Regions from separate parts of the Homo sapiens genome. Here region 2 is linked to region 1. Evidence: promoter capture Hi-C in 16 types of primary human blood cells and fetal thymus (Javierre and others, 2016). All regions are on one chromosome and are shown on one strand. The core of a region is centred on a gene start or on the middle of the fragment in contact, and the rest is flanking DNA. Distances in the headings are between cores, read along the strand shown. Region 1 holds the start of COPA (coat protein complex I subunit alpha). Region 2 overlaps SLAMF1 (signaling lymphocytic activation molecule family member 1).

Evidence for each region. The method cuts DNA at HindIII sites, captures the fragments that hold promoters and counts their contacts. A CHiCAGO score of 5 or more calls a contact.
Region 2: a contact is called between a fragment that was not itself captured here and the fragment with the promoter of COPA in region 1, in 6 of 17 cell types (naive B cells, total B cells, fetal thymus and 3 more). The highest score is 11.9, in naive B cells.

What each region holds. Positions count from the first base shown.
Region 1 is chr1:160,339,257-160,347,200 of GRCh38, forward strand. It overlaps COPA (coat protein complex I subunit alpha), which reads right to left and starts at 3,994. Exons shown (of 33, transcript NM_004371.4): 1 at 3,875-3,994; 2 at 925-1,038; 3 at 653-726. The coding sequence starts at 3,914. It overlaps NCSTN (nicastrin), which reads left to right and starts at 4,127. Exons shown (of 17, transcript NM_015331.3): 1 at 4,127-4,225; 2 at 5,466-5,570. The coding sequence starts at 4,141. RefSeq lists enhancers at 3,927-4,874, 4,147-4,196, 7,562-7,611. The HindIII fragment of the contact is 9,711 bases long and covers 1-5,760 here.
Region 2 is chr1:160,625,036-160,632,979 of GRCh38, forward strand. The region is part of intron 3 of SLAMF1 (signaling lymphocytic activation molecule family member 1); the gene reads right to left. Among named protein-coding and RNA genes, the nearest start is that of SLAMF1, 18 kb to the right of the region's middle. RefSeq lists enhancers at 2,265-2,314, 4,625-4,714. The HindIII fragment of the contact is 6,126 bases long and covers 1,390-7,515 here.

The DNA.
Region 1 (7,944 bases), core at 2,744-5,243:
GCTCAGGTTTCCTAACTGGTATTTTTGCCTCCTGTCTTGCCCAAATCATCCAATCTTTTCTTTAATTACCACCAAGTAATCATTTTAAAAACATATAAATCTGGTATCACTCCTGTATTTAAGTTCCTCAAATGGCTCCTAGTTATCTGCATGATAACATCTAAACTCCTGAGCGCCACAAACAGGTACTCCATGATCTGGCCCCTCTCATCTTCTGCCCCTTCTCTCACCATTTCTCCAGGTTTTCTCCATACAAAACCAATAACAGCTGCCCTGTATCTAGCTGTGTCATGCTTTTTGTCTTTGCACCTATACTGCTCTTTCCTATTTCACTGTGAATATCTCTCTATTATATTGCTTACCAAACTGTACATGCTATTACTTGGATATATGTTTATCTTCTGTATTAGAATAAAAGCTCCTTGAAAACAGAAGCCATTTCTTATTTATTTTTGAATTCCCTAAAAAGAAAACAGTGTCTGGTACACAGTAAGCATTCAATAAATGTTTGCTGAGTAAGTTCTCCGGATAATGTTGTCAAAGGCCTGAGCTCTGTATGAATGAAATTTCCTGTCTTTCAGTTCCTTTCATGATTCCCAAACCTTCCCACATCCTCTTTCCTTTATTCTCAGTTATGACAGACCCTCTGTACCTTAATCTTATAGTCATCTCCTCCAGAGACGAACAGTGGCTGCTGCTTATGGAAGTCAATGCCTCGCACTGGACCTGGTGGAGAAGGCAGGCAATGTATGTTAGACAGAGCTATCCTTTCTAATCTCTAAGGTGATTCCTATTCAGGATTTTTCAGTTCTATCATTTCCACATTCTTTAATCATAGAGGAATCCATGTCAAACAAGGCTTAAAATACCCCAGGATATTATAAATACTTATACTCCTTTAACTTCCTCCTAGAAATATCTCACCATCATGTTCATCAAACTTGTCAATGAGAGTGCACATCCGATAGTCCCATAACTGGATGACCCCATTATGTAAACTAGTCAGGATCCAAGGTCTTTTGGGGTGAAAGCTGAGCCCTGAAAAAAATAGAAAATGATACAATGAGCTAACTAAGCCCCATGATGTCACCTTCTGTCAATTCTGATAAGAAAAAGAAACATCAAGGTTAATCCTAGGTTCATTCATTCGACATGCTTGATGATTTTTTACTGGATGCCAGACATCGTGAATTTTATGTTTGGTACTAGATTTTTGTCATATTCCTTTACATATTCTTGGGCTTTGCTCTAGGATACAATTAAGTTACTTGGAATCAGTTGATCCTTTCAAGGCTTGCTTTTAGGTTTTATTACAGAGGGGCTACAGCAGCCTTCATTCTAGGCTTAATCTGGAACCACTATTAAAGCAATAGCCATCTGAGGTCTCTATTTGAAGCCCTGTAATATTAGGAAGTCTTTCCTTTCTGGCAAGTAGGAACACAAACTAGTCCCAGTTCACTAGTGTGAACTCTGGGGATTGCTCTGCCTTCTCCTTTCCAGTGGTCCTTTTTCAGGTTTTGAATAGTTTTCTCACATGCAGATCAGTACTCAAACAAAGACCTGAGAAGACATCCTGCAGATCTCTAGTGCTCTCTCTCTGCAGCCCCCTCTTCTCCGGTATTTTGCCCAACAAAATCTAGCCATCTTTGCTTCCCCACACTCTAAATTTATGTCTCCTCAGAAAGACCAAGGGATTCCCCTCTTCACTGAAGCCTAAAAACTCTCTAGGCAGTAATCTACGACAATCACAGGACTCACCTTGTTTATTTGCCTTCTCTGGAGAATTATTTTCCTGCACTGCCTGTTGCCCAACATCTGTGAGCAATGTATGAACCTTTGTTTCATACATTTTGTTCAGTTGTATAGTTAAGGTGGGAAGGTAAATCTGGCTCTTGTTATTCTATCATGACTGGAAATGGAAGTCCCCAGAGGTAACAACTACTAACAGTTTGAAGTGTATCCTTTCAGATTTTTAATGCAGTTACACATAGACATAGGCTTTAGTATTTTATGAAAGTGGGGATCACGTTATGATGTTGTTCTGCAAACTTCTTCCTCACTTAACTATATAATATGGATCTCATGGAAGTACATATAAACATAACCTCATTCTTTTTAACTACAAGGGACAAATGTACTACACTTATATTATTCTAACAGGCATTTTGTCCGCCAATTTTTGGCTATCAGAAGAGCCTACTGAAGATACTTCTACACATAATCTAGCCTATTTGCATTATTACTGCCCTAGGCTAAAGACCTGTGAGATTGCTCAGGAATAGAATATGTGCACTTAACATTTTAGTACATATAGTTTAAATGTAAAAACACTGTATCAATATACAGTCTCATGAAGTTTATGGAGGTGCCCATTTTGCACACAGGCTGCTATCAGCTATTTGTTGTTTTGTTTTATAAATCTAAGACCCTCCCCCCAAAAAAGTAACTTAACTTTTTTTTTCTTGCATTTCTTTCATTACTAGTGAGGTGGAACTATTTTAATTATTTATTGAACATTTACAATTTTTCTTCTAAATTGTCTATTTTTCCATTAGGTTCTTTTTTTTAATTATGATATATAAGTACACTCAACAATGGATGTTTGCCCTCAAATATTATGACATCTTTGTTTTTCCTTCTGTACTGCCCAGCAAGAAATTAGGAGCAGAAAAGAAAACTGAAAGATTATGAAGACCCATTTCACATTTCACCTATACAGGTCTCAGAAATTCTTAATGGTACCCATCTTTCAAGGTCAAGTTTCCCAAGAGACTTAGAAACTGCTCAGAATATATTCACACATTGATAACAACCTCCAGTTTTTGAGCTACTGAGTCTACACCAGGCGCTGTAATAAATACACTCCATATACTTTCTCATTTTAATACTCTCTATAAAAGACGATTTTACAGATGAGGAAATACAGACTTAGAGACATTAAGTAAGTCATCCAAGTCACAGCTTGTTAGTGGATGTCTCAGGATTCCAAGGCAAGCCCATCTGACTTCAAAGACCAAGTTCCTAACCACTTTGTTACGCTGCATCTCACTAAATATTCTAGATACTATTTTTTCCAGGTCTTCGGAGACCTTACTTCTCTGACTTTCACATTCTAACGTTCTGAGGCTAATACTGCGATCTCAGTATTTGCCCTCCACCCCCAACGACCCACACTCGAGCTCTAGAGCTGCCGTACTTAGCAAATAAAAATACGAGATTTCCAGATAAATTTGAACTTCTGGTAAGCAACGACAGACTAAAAAACTATTCATTGTTTACCTGAAATTCAAATTTAACTGGGTATCCTGCATTTTATCTGGCAACTCTATCAAGTTGAGACTTTATTGGGGTTATAAGCCTCAAGTACTATTTCCGGGTAGTAAATAAAGCCGAATGGAGGCACTGATGTTGAGATGCTGCAGCCAAGGCCTCCTTAAGTGAGGTTGCCACTACTCGTCTCCAAAAAGGCTACTGACTCGGGTGCGAGTAACAGAGATCGAGACTCAGTTCCCAGGGCCACTCCATATAACACAGTCATCAAAAAGCCAACAGATCACAGGGCCTTTGGAGCAGAACAACACAAATCGGGAGCACAGCCAAGAGAGAAAGGGGGAAGAAAGAATAGGGAGGGGGTCTAAGGAATCCCCTGCAGTGTGGGAGCCACTTTATAGGTAAATCGAAGCCCAAGGACACACCAAAGAAGAGGGGACTGGAGAACCGCTAGCCAGGCCCAACCTCTCTCCCACCCTCCGTCTTCCTCCGGGTCCGTCTGGTGGGCCCATTTCGACCAACACCTCTACCCATTTTCTCTTCCCCGGTGTCAGCGCCGCTCCTGACATCCAACCTCCATGTTCCCCCTTTTATTCTCCACTACCTTTGACCCGCGCGCTCTTGGTCTCGAATTTGGTTAACATCTCTCAGGTCTCCGACTCCGATGTCTTAATCCGAGCCCCGACACACCCTGCTGCCCTTCGGACGCCTCCACGTCAGCGACCCTCTCCCGCGGTTTCCGGAAGCGCCTGGAAACACGAACTTCCGGTCTCTTAGGCTCCGGGCCACAGAGACGGTGTCAGTGGTAGCCTAGAGAGGCCGCTAACAGACAGGAGCCGAACGGGGGCTTCCGCTCAGCAGAGAGGCAAGATGGCTACGGCAGGGGGTGGCTCTGGGGCTGACCCGGGAAGTCGGGGTCTCCTTCGCCTTCTGTCTTTCTGCGTCCTACTAGCAGGTGAGGCCTCCCCGCCCGTGAGCTCCGTTCTCTAAGGGGAACTCTCGGATCGGCCCCGCCGCGACCGCCACTGTCTCCCTTCTGGTTCCTGCTGCCCCTCTGTCCCCCCACCCTGTAAATCCTCTTTCTTTTTCGTTCCCACGACAGAAGTTCCCCCTTTGCCTGGACCTGAAGGTCCCTTCTCCCCCGCAGCACGTCGTGTCGCTTCACTCCCTTCTCTAGGCCTCTTCCTGGACTTCGAGCCTGACCCTCTCCCACTTTGTCCAGATGTCTCGTTTTTCCCACAACCCCAGCCACCCACCCCACAGTCGAAAGGAACAGGTGTGAAAGTTAGCTTTCTTCCTCGCGTTTAGACTTTTTGAGACGAAAGCAATCTTGTTCTGTGGGTGCTGTGCGGCGCTTAAAAGGTGGATTTCTTATTTCTTCCTCTGTTGATTACATCCTAAGTCTGTGTCCCCCTGCCTTGCCTCAGGTTTTTTTTTTTTTTTTTTTTTTAATCAGTAAAGCAAGAATAAGGTAGGATATGGGTACTCTTAACTGTGAAGACCCTGAAGTAACAATTCAAGGAACTTTTGGCATTTATAATGTACTTAAGTGTTTGCTGATACGCGTTCATTTACTGATACATGGCTTTTTAGTTGGTCAAGCCCTAAAATGCAAATGCCTGTATATAACTATGACTGTGCCTTCCCCCAATTCACATTGTTTTTAAGGATCCTCAAAGGAGAAACTACAGCTGCCCCACACTGTGGGCACACAAATGACCTGCTGATGTTAAATTAACTGACCCGTGTATGTCATAAGGTTTCTCTCAATTCTGTTCACACTCTTGGAAAAATGCCTCAGAAAGTTTTCTTAGCCCAGCACCTGTGTATTAACCAATTAGTAATATACATACAGGATATACAAGCAGAAGTGTGATCACCTGTGCAACCAGAATCTGGCAAATCTAAGGTCAAACACCTTTCCTTTGACCAAGTTTTCTCTCTTTTAGTGTCACTGTCAATGGCGCTACATGGACTTTGTAATAACCCTTTGAGGCACATAGCTGGGTGCCATGTAGAACATGTATCTGTTACGATAAGTGTGTGCCCAAGAAATCAGAAGAATGGACTTTAATCTCATTTTAGAAAGTATGATATTAAATGATTTACCCAAGCCATACTTCAGGTTAATGACACGATAGAAGCTAGTACCTGTGTCTCTCAAATTTTTCTAACACTTTTTATCTTCCGATCAGGTTTGTGCAGGGGAAACTCAGTGGAGAGGAAGATATATATCCCCTTAAATAAAACAGCTCCCTGTGTTCGCCTGCTCAACGCCACTCATCAGATTGGCTGCCAGTGTGAGTTGAGATGGATTCATGTTTGTGGACATTGATATTTGTCTGTGCCCTAGATACTAAGTAACATCCATGTCCTGCTTAGGAGATTTGACACTTATATTGGACTGTATGTAGGCAGTTACAGATAACCGTCTGTCAAGCTAGGCAAGATAATTAATAAGAACTAACATTTAGTAAATGCTGCATACCAAGCTTTTTACATGTGCATCTCATACAACCCCAACCACAACCCCACAAAATAGGTCTTACTGTTATTGTCACTTTATAAATGATGAAACTAAAACTTAAAGAAGTTGAGTAACTTTCCCAAGATCATACTGGTAATAAGTGATGATGCCAGGATCTGGTGGCCCGAGCACTAAGCTGAGAGACCTTTTTTTTTTGACACGGAGTTTCACTCTTGTCCCCCAGGCTGGAGTGCAATGGCACGATCTCGGCTCACGGTGACCTCTGCCTTCTAGGTTCAAGTGATTCTCCTGCCTCAGCCTCTTGAGTAGCTGGGATTACATGCACCTGCCACCATGCCCAGCTAATTTTTGTATTTTTAGTAGAGATGGTGTTTCACCATGTTGGCCAGGCTGGTCTCGAACTCTTGACCTCAAGTGATCCACCCACCTTGGCCTCCCAAAATGCTGGGATTACAGGCGTGAGCCACCGCACCCAGCCGAGCCAGCACTCTTAACCACCCTATTATACTGTTTTTTAAGGAGAAAAAAGTCTCATATTCTATGGTGTCCAGTTATCACTTGCACTCTGAACTTTTTGGAACCAAAATGGGCTAAAGGCAATGAACTATCTGAAGAGAAGGCACTGAAAATGCCAAATAGGCTGGGCGCAGTGGCACATGCCTGTAATCCCAGCACTTCAGGAGGTCAAGGCGGGTGGATCACTTGAGGTCAGGAGTTTGAGACCAATCTGCCAGCATGGTGAAACCCCCCCATCTCTACTAAAAATACAAAAATTAGCCGGCTGGCTGCTATGGCATGCCTGTAGTCCTAGCTTCTCGGGAGGCGGAAGCAGAAGAATCCCTTGAGCCCAGGAGGCGGAGGTTGCAGTGAGCTGAGATTGTGCCACCATACTCCAGTATAGGTGACAGAGTGAGACACTGTCTGAAAAAAAAAAAAAAAAAAAAAAAGAAAATGCTGAATAATTGCAAGAGGAATTAGTGAAGCATTCTATTTATCCTTTTTTAAAACTTTTTTTCCTTAAATTCAACTGACAGGCCGTTTATTTTCACACTTTGTGTGTTCCAAAAGAAGGTTCCATGACACTGTGGCTTTAAAAACTATCAAAATCATAGGGCAGGAAAAGTAGTAATCTAAAGGCTAACCTGCTGTCTTCAGATTTTGTTTCCCATGGACAATAGCTCTGTCAGAATGTAGTTTTGCAGATAAGCAGGAAACTTGGGGTCTGATACTGGCTTCTTCATCATCAAATTGATCACCTCTGAATTTCAGTTTACCCCTGGAATAATGGTTGGAGTACTTGCATAAAGCTGAAAGTCAAATACCTCTTAATAGTTGTTTATTGATGACGCTAGGTAAATAGGGTGGTCTCAAAAGTGCTGTATAATTTCCTGAAGCCTTCTTCCCATTTGATAAGAGAAAACTGGGACACTGAGAAGTGAAGGACTTGTTCGTGGAAGCAGTTACTACTTTTTTAGCCATCTTTCCCTGAGCTATAGTATCTGTTAATTGTCCCATGTCCCTGCTATACAAAGCACTGGGAGTAGGTTGACTGGTTCCAAACAGCCCCAAATAAAGTTTTTGTTGTACTTAGTTTCTTTTTTTTTTTTTTGAGATGCAGTCTCGCCCTCTCGCCCAGGCTGGAGTGCAATGGCACAATCTCAGCTCACTGCAACTTCCTCCTCCCAGGTTAAAGCAATTCTCCTGTCTCAGCTTCTTGAATAGCTGGGATTACAGGCGCGTGCCACCGTGCCCAGCTAATTTTTTGTATCTTTAGTAGAGGCGGGGCTTCACCATGTTGGCCAGGCTGGTCTCGAACCCCTGACCTCGTGATCTGCCCGCCTTGGCCTCCCAAAGTGCTGGGATTACAGGCATGAGCCACCATGCCCAGCCCTCTGGACTTAGTTTCTGAACTGGTTTGTAGGTAGAAGAGAGCTAGGTCCAGGGTGGGCTGAGATCAGACTGCTGGTCTTGCTGGAACCTCACTATAAAGTACAGAAGGCCAGGACCCCAACCTCTTGTAACTAGGCTCTAAGAAAACTCCTTTGGGAATAAGTCATTCTACTCTATGTTCTTAAAACAGCTCTGTAGGAAGCAAAGCCTCTAGAGGTAAAGCCACGTGCCAGTACAGAGAAACAAGAGGGGGTAAGCGGGACTGTGGCCACTTCCTCATTAAGATCTTGGTTCCT
Region 2 (7,944 bases), core at 3,203-5,702, 290 kb after region 1:
TCATTATTCTCATTTTATGGAGAAGGAAAACAGCCTGGAGAACCTCAAGAACTAGAGCTTGGTTTAGTAGTAGAAATGTGGCTGAATACTAAAGACAGACTTCTTGGAGAGTTAGAGAGACTTATGGGCTTGGAAAAAGTTATACCGGGGTAATGAACAGTGGGGACCGAGCTGAAGCCCTAGGGTTCTAAGTAGAATATTCGCACTAAGGTTCTAAATAGAGTAACACCAGATGTTAACATTAATGTGTAAGGGAAACTTATAAGGATGATTGTGGAATAAGCCTGCTTGTTGTTGAACCTGTGAGGAATTTGTGGGGCAGAAATTGAAAGAAAAATAGTCGGGTTCCAAAGGAAAGAATCATGGTGGACACAATCAGATGTTTACAGAGTTGACCAAAGATACAGACAGTCTCAATGAATTCATAAAATGCAGCCTACAAGATCCAAAGGGGCCTCCAGCCTGATAGCTGGCAAGAAGTTGCCTTCTGGATTTGAAAAGATTCTTTTTCTCCTTAGGCCTTTCACACATCAAGTTAGCCCAAGGAATCTCACTGAACTGACTTTGCAAACACCTTGGTTATAGGTTCTATCCCCTAAATTAAATGTTTTAATTTTGCCAGATACCAACTTCAACAGTCTTATGCTCTGATTAAAAAAAAAAGTTAGGAGGCAGGCAGAGAGTTCTGAATTTGTATAAAGCATGACATTTTGAATCATTGCTGATGCTGGAGGAAGGAGCAGCTCCACTCTGAGTGACTTATGGTCACTGAGAACCCTCTGTGCAGGAGTGTGTGTGTGTGTGTGTGTGTGTGTGTGTATGTGTGTATGTGTGTGTTTGAGACAGATTGATTCATTCAAGGTTTATGATATCGACACTAGGAACCACTGGAGAAATCACTCTAATACTAGGATAAGAAGCAAAGCCAGTAGCCTGAACTTTGTGTTTCGTCAGCCTATGGAACTGATCCAGCAAACCATTATAGTAGCACTTACTATTTTGACTAGTTCCTCTTTCTTCTTCTATCATAGATACTTTGGGAACTTCCAATACAACAACTGATTTGAGAAGAAACACCCCCACCATTTATATCATTTTAAAAGATAATATTTCTTTCCAATTTCACTTGAGATTAAAAAAATAAAACCAACAGACAAAGTAGTACCTCTGAACTGGAAAATAAAAGACAAAACTGCACCAGTAATGCCTGGTGAGTCAGCCTCCTCTCCCTCGCGCCCGACGCCGGTTGCTCTGCTGCCCACCAACTCACAGAAACTAACGATGACTGGGTGCAGCACCAAGGCTTCAGGACATGACAACGCCGGCCCTCTCTATCTTTTCTAGGGTCTCTAGAGGATGAAAGCAATCTGCTACCTTTGTCCTATGACAAGCTTCTGCCAGTCCATCTAGATCTGAGAGACAAGTTGGCCATGGTCCTGAAAGATATTTCATAAACTCTAATTTTTTTCCTCATCTTTGGATACAAATATGAATCATAGACCTTTTTAACCTTAAGGGAACTATAGTATAGTGCTTATTTCACCCAACCCACTAATTTTATTTTGAGGACACTGAGACACAGACAGGAGTATCCAGAGTCATAGAAAAAGTCAGTGGCAGAGCTGGATAAGATGGGAACTGCAGATTTTGTGGTTTGTGCTTTAGCCTCTGGAGATGCGGTCCCCATAAAGAAGGCAGTAGTGATGTCAAAGCCCTTTTGACTCAAACCTTTTGAGTCAAAAGCCCTCTGAGCAGCCAACCCATCCTTCATCATCCTCCATCCAACACATGCTCATTCCTGGCCCCAGGCTCCACTCCATACTCTCCTTCCTGCTGCACCCTAAGCTGTCCACCATGCCTGCCTAGCCTTGATGCCCAGGCCAATCTTCCTTTCTTTGTGTCACCTTTCCTGACCATCCCAGCTCTTGTTCTTCCCTGTCCCTTGGACTCCTGCAGCACCTGTGGTTTATGTCATGTATCTTAGAACCTGAGTTTTGGCAACATCATCTTTACCATGCAGACCATTTTCAGTGATGGTATTTGGAGCCAGATAGATAAGTTCAAATTCTGGGTCTACCACTTGATAGCTCTGTGACTACAGATAAGCTACTCATACCCTCTGTGGCTTCAACTTCCTCATCTGTAAAATGAGCATAACAATAAGTTCACAGTGTTGTTCTGAGAAACCCATATAGTAATGTATGGAAAGTGCCTAGAGCAATATCTGGAATCCATCATGTGGTCAGTAAGTGTCAATTACTTCTGCTAGCCTCAATTCTCCAAATAGTTGCTAGGTTCTAGGAGGCCAGAGACCATCTCTTACACTACTTTAACAGCTCTCTTAGTACTCAGTACATAATAGAGTCTCAGTAAATTCTTGTTGATTGATTGGAAAGACAAGAAAATGAGTTTGATCTTAAGTCCAAAGGAGTCTCTTCACCAGTGTCCAGAGATGCTTCAGTCCCATCTGTTCTTTACTTATGGCTTAGTTTCCCTACCTGTATAGTAGGCCCAAGTATTTTTATACTTGGTGCTCATCCATTTGTTGCTATTCTTTAATTATATTTACATGGAAATCAAATGTCAGAGACCCCATGCTCTTAGAAATTTGGATAAGTATGAAAAAAGTGCTACTATTACAGTTTGTTCAGGTCAAGCTGCACATGATTTCTGTAATTTCTGGGAGTAATTTCCTCATGGTTCTCTAAGTCTTTGCTCCTATAACTCTGCTTGCTCTACTCTGTGCTTCCTTGGGTGCAAGGTTTAGTCACTTCATCAGTGATATGGTTTGGCCACGCCCCCACCCAAATCTCACCTTGAATTGTAATAATCCCCATGTGTCAAGGGTGGGGCCAGGTGGAGATAATTGAATCATGGGGTGGTTTCCCCCATGTTGTTCTCATGGGAGTGAATAAGTCTCACAAGATCTGATGGTTTTATAAATGGGAGCTCCCCTGCACAAACTCTCTTGCCTGCTGCCACGTAAGACATGATTTTGCTCCTCATTCGCCTTCAACCATGATTGTGAGGCCTCTCCAGCCATGTGGAACTATGAGCCAATTAAACCTCTTTCCTTTATAAATCACCCAGTCTCAGGTATGTCTTTATTGGCAGGATGAGAGCGGACTAATACAATCAGTTTCCACAAACAAACCAAAAAAACTTTTTTTTAAAAACTTACACCAATAATTTTGTGGGTTTAAGTTCTCTGCTGAAGATTGAAGGGTCCCAGGGAGCAAATTCCATTGTGAACCAGGCAGCTTTCACCACCTAGCAGGTTCAGACTCTCTCTTTCTCTTCCCATTTCTGCACAAGTATCATCTTCCTCCATTCTCATACAGAACCATCCAACCCACACCCAGATTCCTGGGGGGTCTCCACCTGCCTTCTAGCATTTATTAAGGTACTATCATAAACAAATACAATTCCTTTTCAAAGAGGAATTCTAGTAGCAGTTCCTTGATTATAATATGTTTCTTTAAATATTATATTTTTCTAGCTAGTAAGATGTAGAAGTCCCACTTTGATTGCAAATTCCATGAAGGTAGGCCCTGTACCTTATTCTTTATTTGTATCCTCCATTCCACCGGAAACAATATAGGGCAGGAGGGCACTCAATATGCACTCGATGAACTAAGTTAAATTAAATGAGAGTCCACAAAAATGGATCTAGAAAAAGACTGTCACGTAGCTTTCTGTTTAAAAATTACCAGAAGGAATGCAGGGTCACCTGCTGAATGGCCCAAGGCAGGAATCAAAGGGAAGGAGAAGTGACCCACTTGGCTTATACTTTACAATAACAAGATGGAGCCAGGAGGCAAGTGTGTGTCTGTGCCATCGGCGCTTCACCTGTGCTCCCATTTTCAAACCACCATTTCCTGTGGCAGAAGCTCCAGCTCTTCTTCTCTTTGCTCAGTCATGTAGTGAGGCCTCTCTGGATGGTGATGCTGAGAAATCAAAGTTGTCTTGGGGTCTAGAAGCTCCTGACTCCTTCATTCACAAAGAAATGCTACCTGAACATTTCTGAACCAGAGGTTTGGAACTCCCCCTACTCCCGAGGCTCTTAGAGGCGGCCGAGCAGGCTGGTCAATAACTCACATGCCATTTGGGAAGAGTGCTTTGCTCGAGTCTCCACCCTGGGCCCTCTCCACCTATTGTCTGTGGTTTAAACGTGATAACTTGGCAGACAGTCACACATCCAAGGAAAAAGCCAGAGGGCGTTTTTTTTCTTGTCTCTGAAAGTGTTGTCACAGAAACACAGAAGCGTGTCTCTCTCTCTCTCTCTCTTCTCAAGTCCCAAAATCTTATTATTAATATTTTTTTTAGGGAAGATGAAAAAGAAAACTAAAAAGAATCTGAGAAACAAATGCAGTTCACCTAGGAGATACTGCGACGTTAGCGTAACGGTGGGAGCGTGCCGGATCTCCTTCCTGCCTTTCATGTGGTTCTGTCAGCAAAGGCTGCCATCTTCAAGAGATACATTCTTGTTCGTGGCAGTTTCCATTCAGAACTGGGGGTGGGGAAGGATCCTCATGAACCATATACTAATTTAAGTTCTGGGACCATCCAAGTAAACATTTTTACGGAGTTCACAGCTTCCAGAAAAATCACTTACAACCTGCCTATCCCACCCAGCATTGCAGAGGCTACTAGCTCCAGTGAGATTGCGCTCATGCTTTCGTGGTAATACGAGTCTTTTCTGGGCATGTAGCTGCTCAGCTAGGAGCTATGTGTCTCAGCTTCCCTTATAGCGGGTGTGGCCCATGACCAGGCTCTGGGCTGTGCAAAGTTTCCAGGTTTTTCCTTTCCACCATTGTTTTTACGCTCGCTAAATTGGGAAGACCCTAGAGAGAGACCTGTCTTAGTGCCTGGAACATCTAAGTGACTCTGAAACAATGGGAACTCCCTATTTGAAGAAATGACCTTGTTAGAAAGGGGAAGCCTCCGGAGCTCACTGGCAGGCGTCAGCCTTTTCTTTCACTGAGCTAACTCAGAGGTGCTGAGCCAGCGGTTTGCTGATCTGCTGAAAAAGATCCTCTCTTCAAGATGAGCTTCCAGGGGCATTCCTTTCTAGATTCCTTCATTCTAGCACAGCCATATCTATTTCAGAATACAGTCATCGAGGATGGCAGCAAGTCACACACTGTCCACAGCTGACCCACATCCACTGGCTTCACATGACCTAGCCAGAGTACTTCATAGCACCCTAAGAATTGGACTTTGCAATAAAGATGCTTCATTATGATAGACATTAACACACTGAAATGGCAATTGGAACAAGGATGAATACATGACCTGAACAAATGTCACCTAAAGAAAAAGATTTCAAGGAACATATAAGTTTTTGCACAGTTTCGCTTAAGTGAGTCCTGTCAAGATTCAGTGCTCACATCACATTGCATTCCGTCTCATCACACCATTAACCGCTGTGAGGTTTTCATTAATGAAAATGAAAAATGTCTTAAAATCACTGTCCTGATGACAGATGGCAAAGCAACCTCTAATAAACCCTCGGACCCCACCCTTTCATCCCAAGGCTGGGGTTTTCCTTTGTATGCCCTAGGAAAAATGTCTTTGTTAACTGACAGTTGCTGCTTTGGCTCGGGTCCCATCATTTTGATGGATGACTGCAATAATGGCCCCCAGGAACTGGTTTCTCTTTCTTCCCCACTTCCCTGCCCCAGTCTGTTCTCTATACTACTGGAGTTCCTCTTTGAAAAGCAAGACTGATGGTGTCACTCCTCTATCTAAAACTCTTTATTAGTTCCTATCACCTACAAGATAATACAGAGCAAGACCCAGCTGTATCTGCTCCTCCCTCTGCCTGGAATGTCTTTCATCAGCTTGGGTAATTTCTACTTATTTTTAAAACCCAGTTTATGTCACATTCTCTGGGATGCTCTCTCTAATCCCCCGAGACAGTGTTAATAATTCCCTCCTGTTTGTTGCCTTGCATATATTTCCATTTTACATCCGTCACACTGTCTAATCTCGGATCATTGTTTACTTATACAGCTGTCTTCTGCCTTAAGGCAAGGATCATGTCTTTTTTATCTTTGTGTACTGGCCCCTAGCACAATGTAGAGTGTAAATGTTTTGTCAAACTAAGTGCAGTGTTTTAAGAACTGGTAGTATTCGTTATTCATGCGCAAACACAAATCAAGGTACTGATACAATTCTGTTTTCAGTATTTAGGCAATCTGGTATACTGCGCAGGGCAGGCCACAAACCAGCTGTGTGATCTGGTTCTGAGGCAGGGAAGGTCTGGTCCCCTATCCCTGCAGGCTGGCAGGGTGGGGAGGAGGCATCTCTACTTTTATTACATGTTGAATTGTGTTTTCCCAAATTCATATGTTGATTTCCTTATTTGGACATAGCGTCTTCACAGAGTTAATTGAGTAAAACTGAGGTCATTAGGGAGATGTTTTGGGCTGAATTTTGTCTCCCCTCCCCCAAATTTCTATGTTGAAGCTCTAACCCCAAGGACCTCAGAATATGACCGTATTTGGAGGCAAGGTCTTTAAAGGTTATTAAGTTAAAATGAGGTCATTAGGGTGGCCCCTAATCTAACCTAACTGGTGTCCTTATAAGAAGAGGAAATCTGGACACACAAAGAGACACCAGGAAAGAGAAAGAGAGAGAGAGAGAGATCAGGGTGTGAGTACACGAAGGAAAGACCAGGTGAGAACACAGTGAGAAGGTAGCCATATGCAAGCTAAGGCGAGAGGCCTCAGAAGACACCAAACCTGCCAACACCTTGACCTCAAACTTCTAGCCTCCAGAACCAGGAGAAAAATAAATTTCTGTTATTTAAACCACCCAATCTGTTGTACTTTATTATGGCAGCCCTAGCAAACTGAGACAGGTGGGCCCTAATCCAATATGACTGTTGTCCTTATGAGAAGAGGAAATTTGGACACAGAAATACACATAGAGAGAAGATGATATGAAGAGACAAGGAGAAGACAGCCATTTACAAGCCAGGGAGAGGCGCCTGGGAGAGATCCTTCTCTGACAGCCCTCAGAGAAGAACAATCCTGCTGACACCTTGACTTTAGACTTCTAGCCTCCAGAACTGAGAGCCAATACATTTTGATTGTTTAAGCCACTCAGTGTGTGGTCCTTTGTTACAGCAGCCTTAGCAAACTCATACACAGTGGCAAGCCTCTATTGGCAGTTCTTATTGACACACACACACACTGAATCAAGGACTGTCTACTCTGGGAGGGACTTCATTTGTTCGCCCTTTTCATTTTACTGGGGATGAAACAGAGACCCAAGAGAGGGGAACGGCTGGACAGTTCTCTTACAAACCGAGCCGAGATCCTGACAGGGCCCTTCCTGTGGTGCCAGGTTTCTACTGCTTCCTGTCCCTCCACTCCTCACAAGAACCAGCTTCCTACTCAGTAAATCTGGTTCCCACTGGTGCATTCTTGGTCCTCAGAGTGGCTTAGATGGGTAAGTCCATCTTCACATGTTTTCTTAGAACGTCCTGAGCTGAGTGCCCTTAGTATAAGCTTTATGGCCCACCAACACTTTGGTATGCCCTAATTAAATTCTTTTTAAACTACATTGAGGAGCATGAAGAAAGTTCTGCCCCTTTTTTGGGTTAGGCCAGGGTAAAATATTCAGTGCCCTGTTTTTGTACTCTAATAGGGCAGCTATACCCAGAGAGGGCTGTGCTGAGGTAAGGGCTACTGCTTCCTCATTTACAATTAAAAAATACATTATATTTTTGTAGCTTTTATAATAAAAATTACATTTTTATTATGGTTTATAAGGCATTTTAAGTGCTTTATCTCTTTCACTAATGCCTATGAGGCTTCCAGAATCAGAAAGCCTAGCTCCATCACTTGCTCTGTGTGTGACCTTACTTAACCATGTTATAGCTTTGTTTCCTCATCTGTGAAGTGGGGATACTATCAATATTATTTTGTTGCTGTG